Linked DNA regions of Homo sapiens: regions 1, 2, 3, 5, 6 and 7 are each linked to region 4. Evidence: promoter capture Hi-C in 16 types of primary human blood cells and fetal thymus (Javierre and others, 2016). All regions are on one chromosome and are shown on one strand. Each heading gives the region's core, a stretch centred on a gene start or on the middle of the fragment in contact. The rest is flanking DNA. Distances are from core to core; before and after follow the strand shown.

What was found. The method cuts DNA at HindIII sites, captures the fragments that hold promoters and counts their contacts. A CHiCAGO score of 5 or more calls a contact.
Region 1: a contact is called between a fragment that was not itself captured here and the fragment with the promoter of SETBP1-DT in region 4, in 3 of 17 cell types (naive B cells, total B cells and monocytes). The highest score is 6.4, in naive B cells.
Region 2: a fragment that was not itself captured here is called in contact with the fragment with the promoter of SETBP1-DT in region 4 in 1 of 17 cell types (M2 macrophages); the score reaches 6.6 in M2 macrophages.
Region 3: a contact is called between a fragment that was not itself captured here and the fragment with the promoter of SETBP1-DT in region 4, in 5 of 17 cell types (megakaryocytes, M0 macrophages, M1 macrophages and 2 more). The highest score is 9.6, in megakaryocytes.
Region 5: a fragment that was not itself captured here is called in contact with the fragment with the promoter of SETBP1-DT in region 4 in 1 of 17 cell types (M2 macrophages); the score reaches 5.3 in M2 macrophages.
Region 6: a contact is called between a fragment that was not itself captured here and the fragment with the promoter of SETBP1-DT in region 4, in 1 of 17 cell types (total B cells). The highest score is 5.2, in total B cells.
Region 7: a contact is called between a fragment that was not itself captured here and the fragment with the promoter of SETBP1-DT in region 4, in 1 of 17 cell types (total B cells). The highest score is 5.1, in total B cells.

The regions. Positions count from the first base shown.
Region 1 is chr18:45,230,357-45,233,697 of GRCh38, forward strand. It overlaps a transcript of SLC14A2 not described here. Among named protein-coding and RNA genes, the nearest start is that of MIR4319, 260 kb to the left of the region's middle. The HindIII fragment of the contact is 3,728 bases long and covers 1-3,341 here.
Region 2 is chr18:44,117,899-44,120,793 of GRCh38, forward strand. No RefSeq gene overlaps it. Among named protein-coding and RNA genes, the nearest start is that of LINC01478, 410 kb to the right of the region's middle. The HindIII fragment of the contact is 5,756 bases long and covers 1-2,895 here.
Region 3 is chr18:45,386,916-45,389,911 of GRCh38, forward strand. The region is part of intron 8 of SLC14A2-AS1 (SLC14A2 antisense RNA 1); the gene reads right to left. It also overlaps a transcript of SLC14A2 not described here. Among named protein-coding and RNA genes, the nearest start is that of SLC14A2-AS1, 120 kb to the right of the region's middle. The HindIII fragment of the contact is 3,962 bases long and covers 1-2,996 here.
Region 4 is chr18:44,678,228-44,681,160 of GRCh38, forward strand. It overlaps SETBP1-DT (SETBP1 divergent transcript), which reads right to left and starts at 1,645. Exons shown (of 2, transcript NR_187430.2): 1 at 1,389-1,645; 2 at 1-662. SETBP1 (SET binding protein 1) reads left to right here and starts at 2,661. Exons shown (of 6, transcript NM_015559.3): 1 at 2,661-2,794. RefSeq lists silencers at 786-1,425, 2,096-2,345, 2,486-2,535. The HindIII fragment of the contact is 7,071 bases long and covers 1-2,460 here.
Region 5 is chr18:44,094,042-44,096,944 of GRCh38, forward strand. No RefSeq gene overlaps it. Among named protein-coding and RNA genes, the nearest start is that of LINC01478, 440 kb to the right of the region's middle. The HindIII fragment of the contact is 357 bases long and covers 1,295-1,651 here.
Region 6 is chr18:45,271,090-45,274,124 of GRCh38, forward strand. It overlaps a transcript of SLC14A2 not described here. Among named protein-coding and RNA genes, the nearest start is that of SLC14A2-AS1, 230 kb to the right of the region's middle. The HindIII fragment of the contact is 2,721 bases long and covers 1-2,716 here.
Region 7 is chr18:45,349,612-45,352,541 of GRCh38, forward strand. It overlaps a transcript of SLC14A2 not described here. Among named protein-coding and RNA genes, the nearest start is that of SLC14A2-AS1, 150 kb to the right of the region's middle. The HindIII fragment of the contact is 3,527 bases long and covers 1-2,930 here.

The DNA of each region.
Region 1 (3,341 bases), core at 496-2,995, 550 kb after region 4:
GGAGAATCCATTATCTTGCTTTTTCCAGGTTCTAGACCACCTGCATTTCTCGGCCTGTGGGCCCTATCTTTCATTTTCAAGGACAGTGACATTGCATCTGTCTATTCTTCCATTGTCATACCTCCCTCTCTGGTCACAGCCAGGAAAGATTTCTGTGAAGGAGCTGTGGGATCAGATTGTGCCACCCAGACAAGTTAATCCAAAAAAATCCCCCCAACTCAAGGCCCTTAATTTAATCACATCTGCAGGTTTCTTTATCCATGTAATGCAACATATTAATAGGTTCTGGAGATTCAAATGTGAATGTCTTTGGGGGCCATTATTCTGCCTACCACAAGGTCCTTGAAGGCAGATCTTCTTTTTCCCCTTAAGTATTCCTTGTAAGGGTTGGCATAAAAATGCTTTTAAGAAATGTTGAACTGAATCCAGTTCTCAGAGTGTCAGGAAAGGAAGACTCCAGGAGAGTTCCAAAGAGCTGGTTGTTGTCTTCTGGAACGTAGTTTCTTAGTATTATTTGTACAAATTATTGGAATGAATAATTATGCTATTTTGAGTTAATACCTCAGGCAGGAAAAATATTTTTTGAGCCCAGGTTTCAATTATGTTAAATCTTTAACAAGAACAACAACAACAAAAGTGTATTGGCAAGAGCGCCAAAGGCTAGGGTGTTTTACATTAGCCTACCAGCCTCCTGGAAATGTCAAGGAATAGAAGGGCATTACTATCCATGCTTTACAGGGTAAGAAATTGACGCACAGAGAAGTTAAGTAACTTGTCCAAAGTCACAGTGGACAACCCAGAGGCAAAAGCTGAAATATTAACATCTTGATACTTTTTTTATTTTTTATTTTTATTTATTTTTTTGAGGTGGAGTCTTGTTGTATCACCCAGGCTAGAGAGTGGTGATGAAATCATAGCTTACTGCAGCCTTGACCTCCTGGGCTCAAGCTATCCTCTTACCTCAGCCTCCTGAGTACCTGAGACTACTAGCATGCATCACCATGCCTGGCTAATTTTTTATTTTTTTGTAGAGACAAGCTCTTGCTGTGTAGTCCAGGCAGGTCTTGAACCCCTGGCCTCAAGCGATCTTCCTGCCTTGGCCTCCCAAATGGGAAGTACTGTGATTACAGGTGTGAGCCACTACACCCCTCCCATTATGGTATCTTGATGATTAAGCTAGTGCTTTCTCACAGCTTGTGACACTAAAAACCCTTCGTTGTCTCCAGTCAGGATACTCTGACCATTCCTTTCTCATCATTAAACACTCAAATTATGCCCAATTCATTGTCTTCATGCCATCCATTACATAGTCCTTTAATATGGCCATATGCAAATGGCATGATCAATAATAGTGCTGGCAAGTGAGGGGCATGTTTGGAGAATGACACACACTTCAGTTATGCTATGCTATGGGGTGCGTATGAGGAATTTGGTAGTTCATTCAGTGAGTAGTTACTGAGCATCTGTAAGTGTTATGAGTTCCCCTGCTGTCCTTATGGAGTGTTTATAGTGTGGTGATGAAAGCAATTCTTCAAATAAATAAGTATGTGTGTGAAAAGTGTTAACAAAGAAGAAACACAGGCTGCTCTGGGAAGAAGCAACTGATGAAGCTGGAAGACTTTCATATGATGCCTTGAGAACCAAGCTAAAGGATTTCAACTAAGAGTCCATTGCAATAGTAAAAAAAAAAAACAAAATGATGAGTGAATGAACCAGAGTTGAAGCTATGGGAGCAGAAAGGGAAGTGTATTGTTTATTCTCACACTGCTAGCAAGAACTACCCGAGACTGGGCCATTTATGAGAAGAGAGGTTTAATTGACTCAGAGTTCCACAGGCTGTACAGGAAGCATGGCTGTGAGGCATCAGGAAACTTACAATTATGGTGGAAGGTAAAGGGGAAGCAAGCACATCTTATGTGGCAGATCAGGAGAGAGAGAGTGAAGGGAGAAGTGCCACACACTTTCAGCCAGTCAGATCTTATGAGAACTCACTATCATGAGAACAATGAAGAGGAAGTCCATCCCCATGATCCAGTCTCCTCCCACCAGGTCCCGCCCCCAACATTGGGAATTACAATTCAACATGGGATTTCAGTGGGGACACAGAGACAAGCCATATCAGGAAGAATCAACTAGGTGAAAATAGTAACTTGTCTATACCCATTGTTCTAATTCTCTGGCATTCTAGTGATCATTTAGACATATGGAAGAATTAACCAACTTGGTTCCAACTTTGAAGATTCATTTGTCAAACCAGGGTACAGGAGGCTGTCACCATAGACAATCTGTTTGTGAACCAACTCAAGAGACTGTATATAAATACATTTTGGATTGTTACTTTTAATAAATCTGTCATAAGTTCAGCTTAATTGGTTAAGTCACAAGGGCTTTAAGAGCTCCTCCTGTGTAGCCAGCTCAAGGCTGGATGTCATGGGAGATGCTATTAAGCAGCTTATAGGCCCATTTTGAGGCACATTCGTGAAACCACAAAAGGGTAATGTGACTAAAAACTTAGAATCAAGTTCCAACCTGTGTGTAACTGGCTACCGGTGCTGTGTTGGTTCAGGTGGGCCATGAGACGAGAAGGTATAGGTTGACTTCTTGCACCCCAATTTTTCTCTAACTTAATTGTCTGTAGGAGATTTTTACCACTTGAATCTCATTCCTTTTGGGTGAAACAATTTCCCCCTCTTGCAGTTGTCTTTGAACCTGAGAGAAGTGTTAGATTCCTTTAGTTTCACTCTAGGTAACAACTTTCTAACATTGTGAATGGTTCAACAATGGAATCCACATATCGGAGTGGTAGTGAGTTCCTGTTGCTGGAGAGGCTCACACAGAACCTGAGTGAACATCTTCCTGCAACACTGAAGAAGGGATTCCTGTGTTGTTTAGGAGATTTCACAAGTTGACCTCTTAAGGTCAGCATTCTCCTGATCTGTGCTCACATAACTAACAAAAATGTATTGTTGAAATGTTACTTGTTCAAGATAAACTATCCCCTCCCCAAAATCAGCTCTGGTTATACAAATTATGTGACTCTTTGACCCTGATGAATGTGTTGTCTTTTTCTCTTGATATGGGTGAAAGTGTATCACAGGAGTATTGGACACCTAGAAGCACTGGAAGAAACCAAACAAAAAAGTCCCCTATTTCATGGTCTTGCCCGGGCTCCCTCCTGCGTATCACGAAAATGTTTAGGCAGAAAAAGTAATCTCTGTGGCTCTGAACAAAAAGTTAAGTTGCGATTGGACAAGTGCTTAACATCCTCATTAAATTCCTAGTTTCCTTGGGCTTGCTGGGCTGATCTTTCTAAGTGTCTCTTAGCCTTATTGCCTCCCGAG
Region 2 (2,895 bases), core at 218-2,717, 560 kb before region 4:
CCCCATCTCCTGCTAGTGCTGATTCTTCTTTCCCCTTCTGTTCCTAACCTGTGCCCAGTGCTGCTCATCAACCTTTCTTGTTTTGTTGCCTGTAAGAACATGATGCCATCCTGCTTGAGTGATCAGCAATGGTGGCTTAAGTAGTCATTCACAGGGCATGATTCATGGGACCTGCCACTGGGCCTGGGTTGGGGGGGTTGCTTTCTTGGTTAATAATGCTTTGTTTCAATTATAAACACCCTAATAATTATCATGGCAACATGCTGTATGTACACAGAAAAACTTAAAAAGTTTTTTTTGAAATGGGTCTCATTATGTTGTCCAGAGAGTCCTTGAACATTTGGGTTCCAGCAATCCTCCTGTCTCAGCCTCCCAACTAGCTAGAACTACAGGTGCACATCACCATGCCCAGCTACAAAAACTTTTAGCTCTCCCAGTAATCAAAATGTAAGGTACTATTTCTCTTACTTTTATATATGTTGGACTTGGTTTTGAAATCTTGTTTTATTTCAATATCATAAATTAACTCATAAAAGTATTGTGGATAATTTTCTCCCAGAGAATTGTTTAGACCCTTCATTTTGAGAACATAATGGGTATGCAAAAAATGAAAAAAGACAACGTATTCATCATCTGTGAATAAAAGCCAAGTGCCCTCTGAAAAGAAAGGACAAATAAATTATTAAACAAATAGCTCGTTTTTAGCAGCAAAATTAACCTAATATTTTATGGTTTTCAAGGAAATACATACTGATAAAGAGCATTGAGGAAAAAAATGTCTCCAGCATCCAACTTTCTAACGAGAGATGCATGTGTTTATCATTCTTCTCCTATGTCCACTGCCTGAGGCAGTGGAAGGATGTTTTTGCTCTCCTTTTGCCTTATCTCTCCCAGTGTAATAACCCCATCCTAAATAGGCTTCAATGCCCACTGCAATGAATACAAATATGCTTGCTAGATTTGGACTGTAAAACTAGTTTCCCCTACTCTCTGTGCCTCAGTGGAATATATATTAAATGAAGCTATTCCATAAAACATCATCTTATAATAGTAGGTAAGTAGGCTGCTCTGTTTATGGAGTAGCCATTCTTTTATTTCTTTACTTTCTTAATTAACTTGCTGTCACTTTAAAAAAAAAAAAAAAGAAAAAAAAAATAGCCTGAACTTTAGCCATCTTCCAAGTACTAATGAAATGTTCCTGTCTCTAATGTTTAAATAGACTAATGAAGGGCAGTTTTGCCATAGAGGTTAGCTCGATTTTTAATGTATGAGATCTGGGGAACACCTACTTCTAAATAGCTGAACTAAAGCAAGGACTTATTTATAATTCTGAAATCATAATTTTTTTCTTTATTTCTGTAAACTCTTGGTTATTTAATCATCAACTGTTTCAGATGTACTACAGCACCCAAGAATAGAAAGGGAGTGAGAGAGAGAGGTCCCAGACAAAGGAAGAGATACCTTTGTCTTCGTTACAGAACGTGTAACCCCTAATCCTGTAAATTTAGTCTTTCTAAGGATTTTTTGAATTTTATCCTAGCCCCACCATCCATTTATTTATTTGAAATATATATATTGAATGTTCTCAAAATATAATCCAATGCACCATTCCTTGGGAATACATCATTAAAAGGACAAATATAATCTGCCTAAAGGTATTTACATTCTGGGAAGTAACAAATGTTACAACCAGAAATCATTACCTAATTATTTTACGGTTGCTCTGTAATAAAAAGTAATATAGGTGCAATAAAAGTATATAATATAGAGTCAAGAACCAAGCATGGGAATATTTGCTTGAAGAATTAGAGTTGGAAATGAGCTGTGAAAGATGTATACCAAAATAAGGAGTGTGACACTCAAAGGAAATAGCATTGCACAGACTCTAAGATACAGAAAAACATAGACATACTCCAAGAATTGAAAGAATGTCAATGTGGCAGAAACAATAAAGCAAGGAATAAAGAGCTAGAACTGACTCTCTAAAGTGGACAGCAGACATATTCTGCATGTGTTCTAAATATTTATTCTTACAGTGATAAAAGGCATCGAAGAACTTTAAACAAGGCAATGACATAATCATAATTTCTTATATTTCCTTTAAAATATCATTCTTAATTACCATGTGAGTAACAGACTAGAGAGTGACGATTAGGATCCAGTAAGAAGTGCTAAGACTTGAGAGAGAATGATCATTTATTCCATGAGGATAGCAAGGAAATTGATAAAAGTGGATAAATTTGAGCGATATTTAGAAACATGTTTTGTGGCTAAAGAAGAATGAAGGAGAAATAAAAGTCAAGACGAATGTTAGTCTCTAGGACTATAATCCCTAAATATTTTTGGAAAAGAGTGAGTCTTCAAATCCTTGTAAATTGCACCGGTAGAGGAAGACACATGCCTAGAAGGAAATTAGTTGATTCAGGTAGGGGTACAAGGGTTAGAAAATATAGCGAAGGATATGTGGGTAAATTTGTGGGGAACCTTTGGTTGACTTTGGCCACAACCTCCTTTGGGTCAATGCCAGAGAATGAGACTGTAGCAATACTGGAGTCAGAGAATACATATGTAGATACATACATACATTTACACACACACAACATTGCTTGGATATTCCCTCCATAGTCTTGATCACAATGCAGAAGTAATTTTGGCTTGCTAAGTCTATCGATCCAACACTATTGAAAAAAAATATGCTACTATATGCTGCCATATCACAAGAAAATGAAATGCAATCAGATATATCCATAGAGATGGTTATATCATAATGATGGCAGAAGGAATAGTGGAAGATTTTCTAAGTAAACTATGTAGTATAGACTCTCTCTTTTGGCATCTTTGAAAGGAGAGAAAAACACTGTTCACAAATATAGATAGGAACTTTACATGGCCTTT
Region 3 (2,996 bases), core at 255-2,754, 710 kb after region 4:
TGGCAGCTTGTTATTATTAGAATAATTGTGATTCAGTCTGAATTACTCACTATGACACTCTGTGAATATTAACTTTATCTCCCTCTAGACCTTGGCTTAAACTGTTTCTGGAGTATTCTTTTCTGAGTTACTCTTTTTCTCTAAACTGGGCTCAGCCCAGTTGCTACTACTTCCATTGGGCCCTCACAGATATTCTACTCATTGTGGAAATCTCTCTCCATAAGAATTTTGCTGTATCTCCCTTACAACTTCTGTATGTTACAACCATGTATGGCCATCTCTTTTTTCTGTCTTAAAAGGGTATGCTACTTATATCAGTCAAAATAGGCAAGGTTCTGCTACAGCGTCAAGCAACCCCGTATTTCAAAGTATTAAACCCATAGCTTGCCACAACTCCTCAGCCAGAATTAATTCTATGCCCTGCCCCCCAAACAAGGAGGCAGAAAATGTAACCCTCCCACATCACCATGTCACTCCCACAAGTAAGGAGAAACAGATATTTATGAGAATGACTGATGGTTACCACACCCTGGAAAGCAAGGGCAGTCTCTAATTCTAAGTCTCCCTAGCAGTGTGCTTCATAGGCAGTAAATGCACACTATAAATCTTTGGTGAATAACTGATAGGATATATTAGTTCACAATTATGTTATCTCTCTCAATCAATATCATATTTTGAAATACATATCCAGATCAAAAATTTCTTAATGACTGCTAGTAGAAATTTCAGGTATCCTCAGGGCAAGTCAGAAGGGATGGCTTTGGGGACAGGGTCGAACTTTATTTCTCTCATGTCCACATCATGTCTCTTCGAATGTAGAAAGTTGTATGAGCTATTATGACAATCAACTGAGAAGGATTATTTGCCTTCAGGAAACTGATTCACACACTAAACAGCATTTACACATGAAACAGCTGGAAGAAAATTGAGGCTATTTGTCAAAAATGCATGAAAGCCGGTATAGGCTTTGTCCATAGGGCAGACTGAAAAGTGGGGGAATCTCTCATGAGGTCAGGTTATGTGCAAAGAGGTCATTTTTGAGGTCAGGTTATGTGCAAAGGAGGTCATTATTTAAAGGCTGTATACAGCTTGGGAAGGCTCAAAGGAGGATGAAGTCCTGGATTGCCCTAAGCTCACCTTGCTCATATCTTTTTTTTTTTTTTTTTTTTTTTTTTTTTTGAGACGGAGTCTCACTGTGTGCCCAGGCTGGAGTGCAGTGGCGAGATCTCGGCTCACTGCAAGCTCCGCCTCCTGGGTTCACGCCATTCTCCTGCCTCAGCCTCCCTACAGGTGCCTGCCAACACGCCCGGCTAATTTTTTGTATTTTTAGTAGAGATGGGGTCTCACCATGTTAGCCAGGTTAGTCTCGATCTCCTGACCTCGTGATCCACCTGCCTTGGCCTCCCAAAGTGCTGGGATTACAGGCATGAGCCACCGCGCCCGGCTGCTCATATCTTAAATAAACCAGGCACCTGAAATGAAGTCTTGCTTTACTGTGGCTGGAAAACAATTTCACTCCTCAGCTCTTGACAGCAAGAGCTCTTATAATAAAAGACAGGGCATAGGCTGGTTGGATAGCATCTTCCATTCCTAGATACCCTTCCTGGTATCTAGGGCTATTTTTCGTCTGTTCTCTTCAGTGCCCCAAGATTGCGAATACCTGGGGTTGAAGATTTTTATATATTGAGATGCTGAATCTCTAATCCTTTCTCTCTGCCACCCGCCCTTATATTCCCCAAGAGAACACTTAAGAATAGGAATTCCACTCCATGTTTCTCATCCCAGATACCAACTAGACAGAAGGGCATATTGGCACTTGCATGAAGAAGAGGTACAAACTCTTCACAAGCTCCTCAATGTGACCTATGAAGACAGGAGGTCGCTGAAGGCCACAGGTGCACACAAATACGCATTTGTGAGTGATAGGATGATAAAGCAAAGGAATTATGCTTCCAAATGTGGATTGGCTTCTTCAAAGAAGGCACATTGATGGGCTAGCATCTAGTGAAGATTTTAAAATATTGAATAAATAAGGGAAAATAGAAGTTAAATATTCATATATAAATATGTGCATAAAAATAGAGACAGTAATCTGGCATGGATGAGAATTTGCATTAACCCTTTGAGAGGCAAAACCTTTTGATTTCAAATCATTTTGATGTAAATTTTCATAAAATGTATGACACCTGTGCAAGCCCTGGTATGTAGAGAAAACTGACCATTTTGAGATTATGTGCTGGTGATAAAAAGCACCTTTCTGACCAGCTATTGGGCTGGCTATGGAAGCTCACAGCTTGAGTGATGGGATGGAACATGTGCTAATTGCAAGACAAGTTTGCGACTTGTTTTCCTGACTAAATTTGCTTATTGGTTTGATGCTCTATAATTTCTCTATCTCATAAATATGGACTACAGAATCCATCTACATCATTTTTGGAGCCAAGTAACATAGCTCTCTCTCTCCAAAAGTAATGGTCAATCCAGTGGTCAAATGAGGCTTTTCCAAAAGGATTGTCTCATTATTCATCAAGTCATACTATTTTCTCATAATCAAGAGCTGACCATTCTTGCAGTATAAAAAGCATTATTCTTATAGTTACTTCAGGATCCCAAATCAACTTCAACCAGCCTTCTTTCTTTCTTGGATTAAGTTAATAGGTTAAAAAGTGTGACATTTTAGGAATTTTCTACCAAAGGTTCTTAAAGAGTTGTTCAACTAAAGAGCTAAAAGGTGCTTTATATTTGAGAATATTTGCTTACAGGTGCCAGAGGCAATATAGGCTTAGGCAAAATAAGAAAATAGTTAAAGTCTGACATGAACTTGATGGGTCTCTCTACCCTATTTCTCTCCTCTTGTCCCACACTCACCCCCACTCCAAAATATCTGTGAATTAAATCCCACACCCACTGTAAGGAGTAAAAACGTTGACCCTGAAAAAAGATCTTTGCATTTTGATGGATATCCAAACTTTAATCTTCGAGAATGTAACTGTAGC
Region 4 (2,933 bases), core at 395-2,894:
GTTTGTAGCCAGTCAGAACATTCCTCTGAAAAAAAGAGGACAGAGCACTTGGATCAGTAAAAGGGTGAACTATCCGTTCTGAGTCAGACTGAATCTGCATCCAGACAGGAATCGGGATGGGATTGGGGCTGGAAGGGGTTCACCCTTCAATCCCCAGTCTCTTTCACTCCACTTCACTGCAGCGTTCCTATGAAAAACTTGACGAAGAAGTTCTGTGAAGGAACTCAAACCAGCAGCCAATGCAGGGAGGCAGCCACTGATGGCCTCAGTGAGGGAATGCCCCCGACGTACCTCCAAATCATTCCTCAGTCCAAATAGCCTAAAACTCTCATGAAGAACGTGATAGGAGTCCTCTCAGAATCCGAGTCCTCGGTCAACTTTACCCCAAGTTCTTTGAGCGGAACCATTTGCAGACCTTCCCGAATCCGTATCTATCCTATATTGTTTTACAATGTAGACATGTCTCTGAAGGGTTCCATTCGTGTTTCCCTGAAAAGACCCCCTTTGTAGGCCAAATACAAAAACTCAGAGATTACAAATGCCACCATATTTTGTAAGAACTGAAGACATTCCACTTTGTTCTTCCCACCCTGAAAACAACTGCATGCCAGTCTGCGTTTGTCATCTCTCCGTGTCCTTCCCTTCATCAAGTGTCCAATTCTCTTGAATAACGAGAAAATGCACATGAGATCTGAATGCATACAAGTCGCTTAACAACAACAATAAAATAATAATAATAATTTAAAAAAACCCTGAAAGTGAAATATAATTACCAGGTTAAAAAAAAAATGCGCCCAGTTTCGAGAGCCTATCACAGCTCACGTCTGGGCGCGCAGTACCCCCCCGACACTGCTCCTGTTGTGTCAGATAGTGGCAGTGTTGAGCCCAGGAATACGCGCGGAGCCCGCGGCGATCCCCGCGGCCGCTCAGTCTTCGCGGCGGACTCCGGCGCGCAGGAGCCACTGGGCCGCAAGGGCGCCGGGGAGCGGGAGGGGCGCTGGGGGCGGCAAGGGGTCCCAGATCCCAGGCCACGAACTGTTTTCCTTTTCCCCGGGCAAGAGCCCCGCTCCCTTCAACTGACAGAAATTCACTGGGGCAGGGGGGCGAGTGGGGAGAGAGGTCGCTCAGGGCTCGCTACTGGCTGCGCCTCCCCCGGCTCTGGTCTGGGAAGCGGCTCTGGGCCCTCCGGGCGAGCAGCTTGGGCGCCGGCGCCCCCTGCGAGGAAGATCGCGGGGTGACGGTCGGTACCCGTTCGGCTGGGCCGCGCTGCCGCTCCGATCCACCTCCCTTCCGCGCCCGCGCCCTCCCCCTTCCTTTCACTAGGAGTCCGGGATTCGGAGAGGGCGCGGGAGGCAGGCACACGGGCCCGACCCCACTCCAGCGCTCACCGGGGACGCGGGCGGGCGGCGACGGGACGCGGCGGGGGCGCGGGGCGGGCGCGGCCATGGAGCAGCAGCGGCGGCGGCGGCGGCGGCGGCGGCAACACTAGCGACCGCGGGCGGACGAGCGGGCGGGCAGGGCCGCCGGGCTCAGCGGACCGAACTGCACAGCTCAGCAAAAGCGCCCTCGCCCTCCGCGCGCCGCCTCCTGCGAGCCCAAACCCACCAACATTTTTTAACGCTCCAACCCATCCTTTGAAGAAAAGCAAAAAAAAAAAAAAAAAAAAAAAAAAAAGCAAAAAAAGAAAAAGCATTGATCGGAGAGACGGGGATATATATATATATATATATATATATATATATATAAAATTTTTTTTGGCTCCTGCTAAAATTAGCAGGGCTCGCCGCGCGCCTGTGTGCCAGTGTGTGCGAGTGTGTGTGCGTGCGGGCGTGTGTGTGTGAATGTGATTACTCCAGGACTCCTCGGGCTCCGGAGACGCCATTTTCCCCCTTGATATCTCTCTCCATAAATCGGTGGCGCGGCGGAGGCGGCAGAGTCGGGCGGGAAGCGCGGGGCCGGCCGGGGCGCCCGCCGCTCGCCGCCGCCTCCGCGCGCCCGGGGGCCCCGGCGCCCCCCGAGCTAGGGCGGCCAGCTCGCGGCTCGCCGTTTGACAGATGCTCATCGCCATGGAGTTGCCGCAGCAGCACCTTTGGGGGCTCGGGCGAGCGACGGGAGCCGGGATCTGAGCGAGCGCCGGGGCCAGCGGAGCCGGAGCCGCCGGGACATGGGTGAGCACGCGCGGCGACCTTGGCCCGGGAGCCCGGGCGCCCAGCCTCCCTCCGCGCCGCGGGCCCCCGCACTCCCGGAACCGGGGGCGACGTGTGTGCCCTGCATGCAAAAGTTCACGTCGCCTTGCTGGGTCTTTGACTTTGCACCCGGCGGGAAGGGGGAGACCGGGCCGAGGGGGCGGGATGCCGGTCCGGGCGAGGTTGCAGGAGATGGGCGCGATTCCGGCGGGCCGGCGGGTGGGCGGCGATGCTGGCTCAATTGGAGTGGCTCGTTGGTGGCGGCGATGGTGGAAGCTTTGGGCTGGAGGGCTGGGAGCTTATTGAGTTTCGCCTAATCTGATCTACCCCCCCTCCGCCCCCCGCCTTTTGCACCCTCCCTCGGTCCTGCAGCCGGCTGGCGGGGCTGGCGGGTTTGGCGTTGGTGGAGTGGACTCGGGAGGGGGAGGGGGTAAGGAAAGGGGTGGGAAGGCAGGATTTTTTTTTTCTCTCTTTGTAACTTGCAGGTTAAGTGGAGCTAGAGAGCTACATTGTAACCTAGTTGGATTTTTTTGGGGGGGGAATGTATCAGAATCTAACGTGTCGTTAATAGAAAGAAGAACAGGCAAGAAGTGGTCCAGCCGGCGAAGGTTGGTGTGTGCTTGTGTTGTGCCTGTGTGTTAGTCTTTTTCTTAAAAATCTTAATCAATGGATTTGAGTCTCTTTCTTGTGCTCTCTGGTTTTGGGACTCTGAAAAGATAGGAATTCCCTTAAAAGCAGACGAATGCC
Region 5 (2,903 bases), core at 223-2,722, 580 kb before region 4:
GGCAGTATGGCCATTTTAATGATACTGATTCTTCCAATCCATGAGCATAAAATGTTCTTCTATTTATTTGTGTCATCTCTGATTTCTTTCAGCAGTGTTTTAGGGTTCTTCTTGTACAGATCTTTCCCTTACTTACTAACTGGATTCCTAGGTATTTCATTTTCTTTTTGCTGTTGTAAATCAGATTGTGTTCTTGATTTGACTCTCAGCCTGGACATTATTAGTGTATAGAAATGCCACTGACCTGGCCAGGTGTGGTGGCTCACACCTGTAATCCCTGCACTTTGGGAGGCCCAGGTGGGTGGATCACCTGAGGTCAGGAGTTCAAGACCAGCCTGACCAACATGGAGAAACCTCATCTCTACTAAAAATACAAAATTAGCCGGGCGTGGTGGTGCATGCCTGTAATCCCAGCTACTCAGGAGGCTGAGGTAGGAGAATCCTTGAACTCAGAAGGCAGAAGTTGCAGTGAGCCGAGATCACGCCATTGCTCTCCAGCCTGGGCAACAAGAGCGAAACTCTGTCTCAAAAAAAAAAAAAAGAAATGCCACTGACTTTTATACATTCATTTTGTATCCTTAAACTCTACTACAATCATTTATCAGTTCTAGGTGCCTTTTACTGAAGTCTTTAGGATTTTCTAGGTATAGAATCATATTGTCAGTGAAGAGAGATATTTTGACTCTTTAGCTATCTGAATGCCGTTTATTTCTCTCTCTTGCCTGCTTGTAAGGGGAGGTGTCAGCTGGGCTTCCTGGGTCGAGTAGGGGCTCAGAAAGCTGTGAAACTCAGTCATTTCCTGCATCAGGACTTACTTTGGTCCTGGATGAATAATATTGAAGATACATGCTTAAAATATTCCTAACATCAGAATTTGTGCCTGTGTTTTCTTCCCCAAGAAAGCTATAAACAGCGAAAATTTTGTTGTAAGCTTCCCTGTGTCCTCTCTCCCTCTCTCCCTTCCCCCTCCCCTGAAACTAAAAGAAATGTTAAAAGCCTGTTTTTCTGTGACCAGCATACCTTGTCTATGCTCCCAATTCCAATTCCTTGTAAACACAATTTGTGAAATCCTGTGAGATCCTGTCTCCTTTGCCATGCCGCTGCAAGGTCATAAAGTAGATAAAACTTAAGTTACAATTCCGGTTTTCCTCAAGATCTGAGACATGTTAATTGTCTTTGTTTCTTGCTCTGGTAACATCTTCCCGCTGCACGTAGTTCCCTCCTTAAAGAGTTTAAAAGGTGATCAAAAAATCTAACACTGGCTACCCGCTCGGGACCCCTTCCACGCTGTGGAAGCTTTGTACTGTCACTGCTTAATAAAGTCTACAGCCTTTTTTCTCTCGGTCTGATCCGTGTCTCTCTCTCACTGTGGGCTACCGCCACACCAAATCTTTGGCGTGGCTAAGGCAAGAAACTTTAGCGTTACACTTGCTCTGATTAGGACTTCCAGCACTATGCTGACTGAAAGTGGTGACAGTAGTCATCCTTGTCTTTTTCCATTTCTCAAGGGGATTGGTTTCAGCTTTTGCCCATTCAGTATGATGTTGTCTGTAGATTTGTCATATATGGCTTTTATTATGTTGAGGTATTTCCCTTTGATGCCTAGTTCATTAAGTGTTTTTCATATGAAGCGTTATGGAATTTTATTAAAAGCTTTTTCTGCATCTTTTGATATAATCATGTTTTTTGTTTTTATTATGTTTTTGTGGTGAATCACATTTATTGATTTGTGTATGTTGAACCAGCCTTGCATTCTATCAATAAAGCCTACTTGATCATGTTGTATTAACTTTTGATGTGCTCCTAGATCAGTTGTTAGTATTTTGTTGAGCATTTTGGCATCTATGTTCATTAGGGATATTTGCCTGAAGTTTTCTTTTTTCATGTGTATCTGCCAGATTTTAGTATCAGGCTGATACTGGCTTCACAGAATGAGTTAGGGAGAAGCCTCCTTCCTTAATTTCTTGGAAAAGTTTCAGTAGGATTTGTATGACTTCTGCTTTGTATGTCTGACAAAACTCACCTATGAATCCATCTGGTCCAGGATTTTTTGGGTTGGTAGATAATTTATTATTAATTTAACTTCTGAGCTCAATATTGGTCTATTTGAGATTTCAATGTCTTCCTGATGCAATGTTGCAAGGTTGTATTTCCAGGAAATGACACATTTCCTCCAGATTTTCTAATCTGTGTGCATAGAGTTGTTCATTGTATTCTCTGAGGCTCTTTCATATTTCTGTGGGATCAGATGTAATGTCATCTTTGTAATTTCTGACTTTACTTATTTGGATCTTCTTTTTTTTTCTTTGTTAATCTAACTAGTGGTCTATCAATCTTGTTTATTTTTCCAAATGGAGAACTCTTAGTTTCAATGACTCTTTATACTGATTTTTGCATCTCAATTTCATTCAGTTCTTCTCTAAATTTAGTTACTTATTTTCTTCTGCTAGCTTTGGGTTGGCTTCTTTTTTTTTCTAGTTCCTTTACGTGCAAAATTAGATTGTTATTTTGAGATCTTTCTAACTGATTGATGAAGGCATTTAGTGATAGAAACTTTCCTCTTCACGCTGCTTTAGCTGCATCCCAGAGATTTTGGCAAGTTGTGTCTATATTTTCCTTAATTTCAAAGAATTGTTTGATTTCTGCCTTACAGTGTTCACCCATGAGTTATTCAGAAGTAAGTTGTTTAATTTCTATGTATGTGTATAGTTTTGAAACATTTTCTTGATATCAATTTATATTTTTATTGTACTATGGTCTGAGATTATGCTTTGTATGACTTCTATTTTTTTAATTTATTTAGACTTGCTTTATGAGCAAACATGTGGTTGATCTTAGAATATGTTTTATGTATAGATGAAAAGAATGTATATTCTTTGGTTGTTGGGTGGAGATTCTGTGGA
Region 6 (3,035 bases), core at 106-2,605, 590 kb after region 4:
AGATGGTGGATCCCACTTTCAGATAAAGAACATTGGTGATGCATCCACTTGAAAATCAAGTGACATTTGCAGAGCCTAACCAAGTTAGAAGAACAAAGGAAAAAGTAATTCTTATCTGAGCAAGTAATGCTTGTCAGCTCTTCCCCAAAGGAAATGCCCTCTGTTGTGTAGACATCTTAGTGGCTGGGCCAGTCCAGTTTTAGTTCTTTCTAGCAATGGTTATTTTTTCCTTTTCCCTTGGGAGGTGATTCTAGGAGCTAAAAGATCATGTTAGCACAGATTGTAGAAAAATCAGGAAATTTATGACTTGAATGGAAATACAGACTGATGATTAACTGTAATTCATGACATTATGCAAAAGAAGATAGCAGCTGGAAAGCAACTTTAAAAGTATCAGCAAAACATGCAATGATAAAATGCTACCTACAGTGAACAATCTGAAACACAAATCAAAAAGTAATCCCTTTTACAATAGCCACAAATTGAATACCTAGAAATTAAAAAGAAGTGAAAGAATTCTATAATGAAAACTATAAAACACTGATGAAAGAAATTGAAAAGAACACCAAAAAATGGAGAAATATTCTATGTTCATGGATTGGAAGAATCAATATTGTTAAAATGTCCTTACTACCCAAAGCAATCTACAGATTCAATGCAATCCCTATCAAAATATCAATGACATTCTTCACAGAAATAGAAAAAAAATCCTAAAATTTATATCGAACCGCAAAAGACCCAGAATAGCCAAAGCTGTCTTAAGCAAAAAGAACAAAACTGGAGGAACCACATTGCCTGACTTCAAATTATACTACAGAGCTATAGTATCCAGAACAGCATGGTACTGGCATAAAAATAGGCACATAAACTAATGGAACAGAATAGAGAACCCAGAAACAAATCCATACATGTATAGTAAACTCATCTTTGACAAGGATACCAAAAACATACACTAGGGAAAAGAGAGTCTTTTCAATAAGTGGTGCTGGGAAAACTGAATAGCCATATGCTGATAAGGATGTGGAGAAAAGGGAATCCTTTTACACTCTTGGTGGGAATGTAAATTAGTACAACCACTATGAAGAATAGTTTGGAGGTTCCTCAAAAAACTGAAAATTCAGCTACCATATCATCCAGCAATCCCACTGCTGGGTATATATCCAAAAGAAAGGAAATCATCATATTGAAGAGATGTCTGTACTCCTGTTTGTTGCAGCACTGTTTACAATAGCCAAGATTTGAAAGCAACCTAAGTGTCCATCAACAGATGAATGGATAAAGAAAATATGGTACATCAACATGGATGGAACTGGAGATCAATATATTCCATCCATGTTGTTGCAAATGTTGCAACAACATTTTACTATGTTAAGTGAAATAAGCCAGACACAGAAAGAGAAACATCACATGTTCTCACTTATTTGTGGGATCTAAAATTCAAATCAATTGATTTTTAGTAGTAGTACCCTTCTAGTTTCGTGGACATAGAAAGTAAAATGATGATTACCAGAGGCTGGGAAGGGTAATGGGAGGTTGAGGGGTAGATGAGGATGGTTAATGGGTACAAAAAATAGAATGAATGAATAAGACCTACTATTTGGAAGCACAATAGGGTGACTTTAGTCAATAATAACTTAGTTGTATATTTTAAAGTAACTTAAAGAATATAATTGGGTTGTTTGTAAATCAAAGGATAAATGCTTGAGGGGATGGATACCCCATTCTCCTTGTTGTGCTTATTTCACATTGCATGCCTGTATCAAAATATCTCATGTACCCCACAAATATATGCACCTACTGTGCACACACAAAAATTTTTTTAAAATAAAAGCTACCTAAGCCAGCAACTGAATCCCTTATAGGGAGCCTAGTCATTAAGTAAACCCTACACTGCTATATCCATCAGGAATCGTGCAATTGCAAATATCGGAATAATGGACTTGACTGACTTAAACTAAAGCATGATTTTTTTTCACTCATCTATCTGAAATGTCTAAGAGTTTCAAGCTCAGATGGATCGAGGTGTCCCGATATCATCAGATCGGGGTTTTTGCTCTATTACTCGACTCTCGCTTTGCTATGTACTGGTTTTATTTTCAGTGGTTTTATCCATTGAAGAAGTAAAATGACCATCCAACAGTTCCAAGATTACATCCTCATAGCTGTAAGCTCAGCAGTAAAGAGAGAATAATTTTCTCAAAATAGTCCCAGAAGTCTTGTAACTGCCTTGTTGGCTCTGATTGGGTCACATTCTCATCCCTGAACCATTCACTGTAGACAGGAAAATGGGATGCTATGATTGGTTAGGCTTGAGTTATCTTCTCTGGAGGTAAAATCAAGATAACGTTCAAACCATAGAGCCTTTAAATGGGTAGGTAAGAATTTCCCAGGAGAAAAGCGTTGTCCTACAGATGAAGAGGGAACAGGTAGTGTGCAATACAACCATCAAATACTTCTACACTCTAGACTTGACTTTTTTCTGATAATGTGTGTGTATTTGTGGAAAGGAGTGGCCAAGAGGAGAAGGAGGAAGCACAAACAGGTGAGCAGAGTAATTGGGTGTGCAAATGAAGTCCAATAGTCTTTTTAAAAAAGCATTAACCAGGAGCTAGGAGGCAAGATGTAGGCCAACAGCTTGAAAAACAAGCTGAATCCAATGTGTTAGCACAGATTGTACTTTGGGTGACACAAAATTCTCTTCTCGTTTGGAAATTAAAGCTTAACTGTGACATCTGCAAGGCATTTTTTCTTCTCTGGACTCTGTGTGAGCATCTATAGAACAGTATTGAAGGGTGAAGAAAATTTAGATCAACTGAATACTAAGATTCCATTATGCTGTAAATGTGTTATATTTAACATTTAATGCATTTTATTTAATTTGAGTTTTAATTCTAAGACAGAACTAATGAGAATTAGGTGCAAGAAAAAATGCAATACAATGCACACTGCTTCCTCATATCTTTGATTCCATCTATGTGATAACAGGCTTACCAGGAATCCCTTGTATTGGTGATAGCACAACCTAACTTGACCAA
Region 7 (2,930 bases), core at 111-2,610, 670 kb after region 4:
CACAGGTTGCGCAGTGAATGCAGCAGGAATGGGCAGATTGCACAAACATAACCCATCTTGGTTACAGCTCTCTCCTCTCCTGGGCATTTCCCCAAATGTTTCCCTGGAATCATCCAAGGTGTTGTCATCTCCAGATTATAAAAAATTAAAAGGCAAGAAGTGGAACGTAGATGAAGATTAAGAGAACTAACTAGGCATAACTTAGCTAAATGAAAATGCCAGGGAACCTGAAAGCCATCTCCAAGGTTTTTACATGCTTAGGTAATTTGGCAAAAGGCAATGTCTAAATGCATCAATGGCAGGAAACATTGACTACTTCAAGAAGCATAAGAAATCAGAAGTAGTCAAAATAATCAATATTATCAACTTTTTATTGAGCTTCTACTATTTCTCCAACCCCAGGCTTGGCACCAAAGAGGATTTAAGACAAAAGCAAAATAATTACTGCACTCACTGTTTGGGTCAACAAAGACAAAACACAGACCCTTGAGCATGGTCCAGTGAGTGAGACTGACAGCTTGCTAAAAGAGTTCAGGGCAGGGAGCATTTCCTATGACTGAAGGTAGCCAGAAAGCCAGAGAAACGTGCGAGAAACAGATTTAGAGTGTTTTCACCAAAGTGAATAAATGTCGTTAAAAACCATTCTGGATAAAACCTCAGAATCACAATGCATTACTAACATACACTAAACAGTCACCATTTTTGATATCTCTGATTCCTGAGAACACCCCCATGGCTCAGATACAGTTGATTATAAAACAAACACACTCATAGCTCAAGGTCACAGGGACAGCACGTTCATCACAGTGAGGGAAATTCCTTGGGAAGAGGCCGCAGTTCAGTCTCCTGATGGCAGGACCAGCACAGCTCTGCATGCTGGATAATTAGGAGGCTCAGTTTAATTCCAAATATCTGGGCAACAATCAATAGTGAGAGCATGAGGGGTGTGTGGCTGGACTAGTTTATGTGACGGGTCACACATTAGGTACCTAATTGATGTGGCTTCTCGGGATGCGGTAATGCCGCTGACGCACACCACTTTCCTATTACTAGGCTTAATGGTTCATCTTTTGATTTCTGCCTCACTCCCAGCACAGTGTTATTTAAATAAGACCCTATTAGGGATTTATTTATCACAAGGAAAAGATTTATCCAGGAAAAAAAAAAAAGCTCCCTGAGACACAGCAGTTCCGCTTATAGAAGCACCATAATAAAGAAGACAATAGCAATATTTTTACTGTTTAGGTCGATACAATTATAGGATGAGAGAAGGCAAGAAGCAAAAAATATAAATTTCACACTCAGTGACCTAGTAATTTGTCAGTCATTTTCTGCATTAAACCTAATGCATCCTCTGGGACTGGGGCAGAGGATACCAGAGAAATCTCAGCACTCCTGGCCTGACGTTCCTAACTCCACACCGTCTCTCCCTTTCTTCTTTCTTCTTGATCATTTTCTCTATGTGTGTAATTGTCTTTGTCTTCTCAGTTCCTGTGCTTTCTGATGATGGTGTTCTTTAGTCTTTTATTCTGGTACCAATTGCTGGAAACATAATCACCTATTTGTATTTCATTATTGAAGGAAAGGGACCTTATATGAGGTGGTAGAAAAATCTTGACCCTGATCAGTTTAACTTTATCACCATGGCAGAAGAAGAAAATCCTATCCTTCCTGGGTCTCCAACCCAAATAGCCTCATTTTTTTCCCATGCAAGCCCTTTTCTATTCCACTTATGCACCGTTTTTTGTTTGTTTGTTTTGAAACAGAGTCTCTCTTTCTGTTGCTCCAACTGGTGTTCAGTGGTGTGATCCTGGCTCACTACAGCCTTGACCTTCTAGGCTCAAGCAACCCTCCTGCCTGAGCCCCCCAAGTAGCTGGGACTACAGGCATGTACCACCACACCCAGCTAATTTTGTTCATTTTTTTAAAGACAAGGTCTCACTATGTTGCCCAGGCTGGTCTTGAACTCCTGGACTCAAGTGATCCTCCCACCTGAGCCTCCCAAAAATGCTGGTATTACAGGCGTGAGCCACCATGCCCAGCCTACTTATGTACGCTCAGTACCTACAGTATACTATATTTCCAGCCAATTACTGGGTTTGAAAAGTATAGTAAAGAGGCAGAAGGGAAATGTTTCCCTCTGAGAGCTTACAACCTACATGGAGAGATGAGACAGACATGAAACAGAGGACTACAAATCACATCACAGAGTTTTAGTATGGGGCTGGAGAGGCAAGAAAGGGAGCAGGTGGAACACTTGGATTCAAATATCAGAAGGACTGTAATGGGAAAGGAGTAGATAAACAGGAGAGCTTTGGGAACACAAATGGGCTCAAGTCATAGGACCATCAGGGAGACAGATATTAGGTCAATGTAAAGAAAACGTCTCAGTCCATGAAAAAGAGTCATCTGACAACAGCAGGTGATGTATATGAGGAAGTCGTGGACAGGGCTGTGGTGGGGGCTTGCTGCACTGGACAGGGCATGGGACTGTGGCGCCTTCAAACCTCAGGTTCTTGATGTGTTTTAGGAATCTGTAGAAGGTGCACATTCATGAGGTCTTCAGTCACCAGGAAATACTTCAAAGAAAAGGCAAACACTGAGTTGAGTCCTGTGTAAATTTTCAGAGAGACCATGGAGAAGGGGCTTCTGGAAAGGGAATGACACACACACAACCTGTACCCCTGTACCCCACCCCATACCCATTCTTTCTTATGATTCTCCATCCAGAGGGCAAGTTTTCCTCTTTTAGGTAGAGACGAATTGTTCATGACATAGTCATTTATCCCCCAAAGAGGAGGAAGAGGCACATAAGTAGACTAAACTTTAAAATTTGATACCTTTATTTATTTATTTTCTCTTCTGTCTTCCCATTCTTCCTATTCTATCTTTCAAAATGACTTACTGAGGCCCTAGGCACTCGGGCTAGA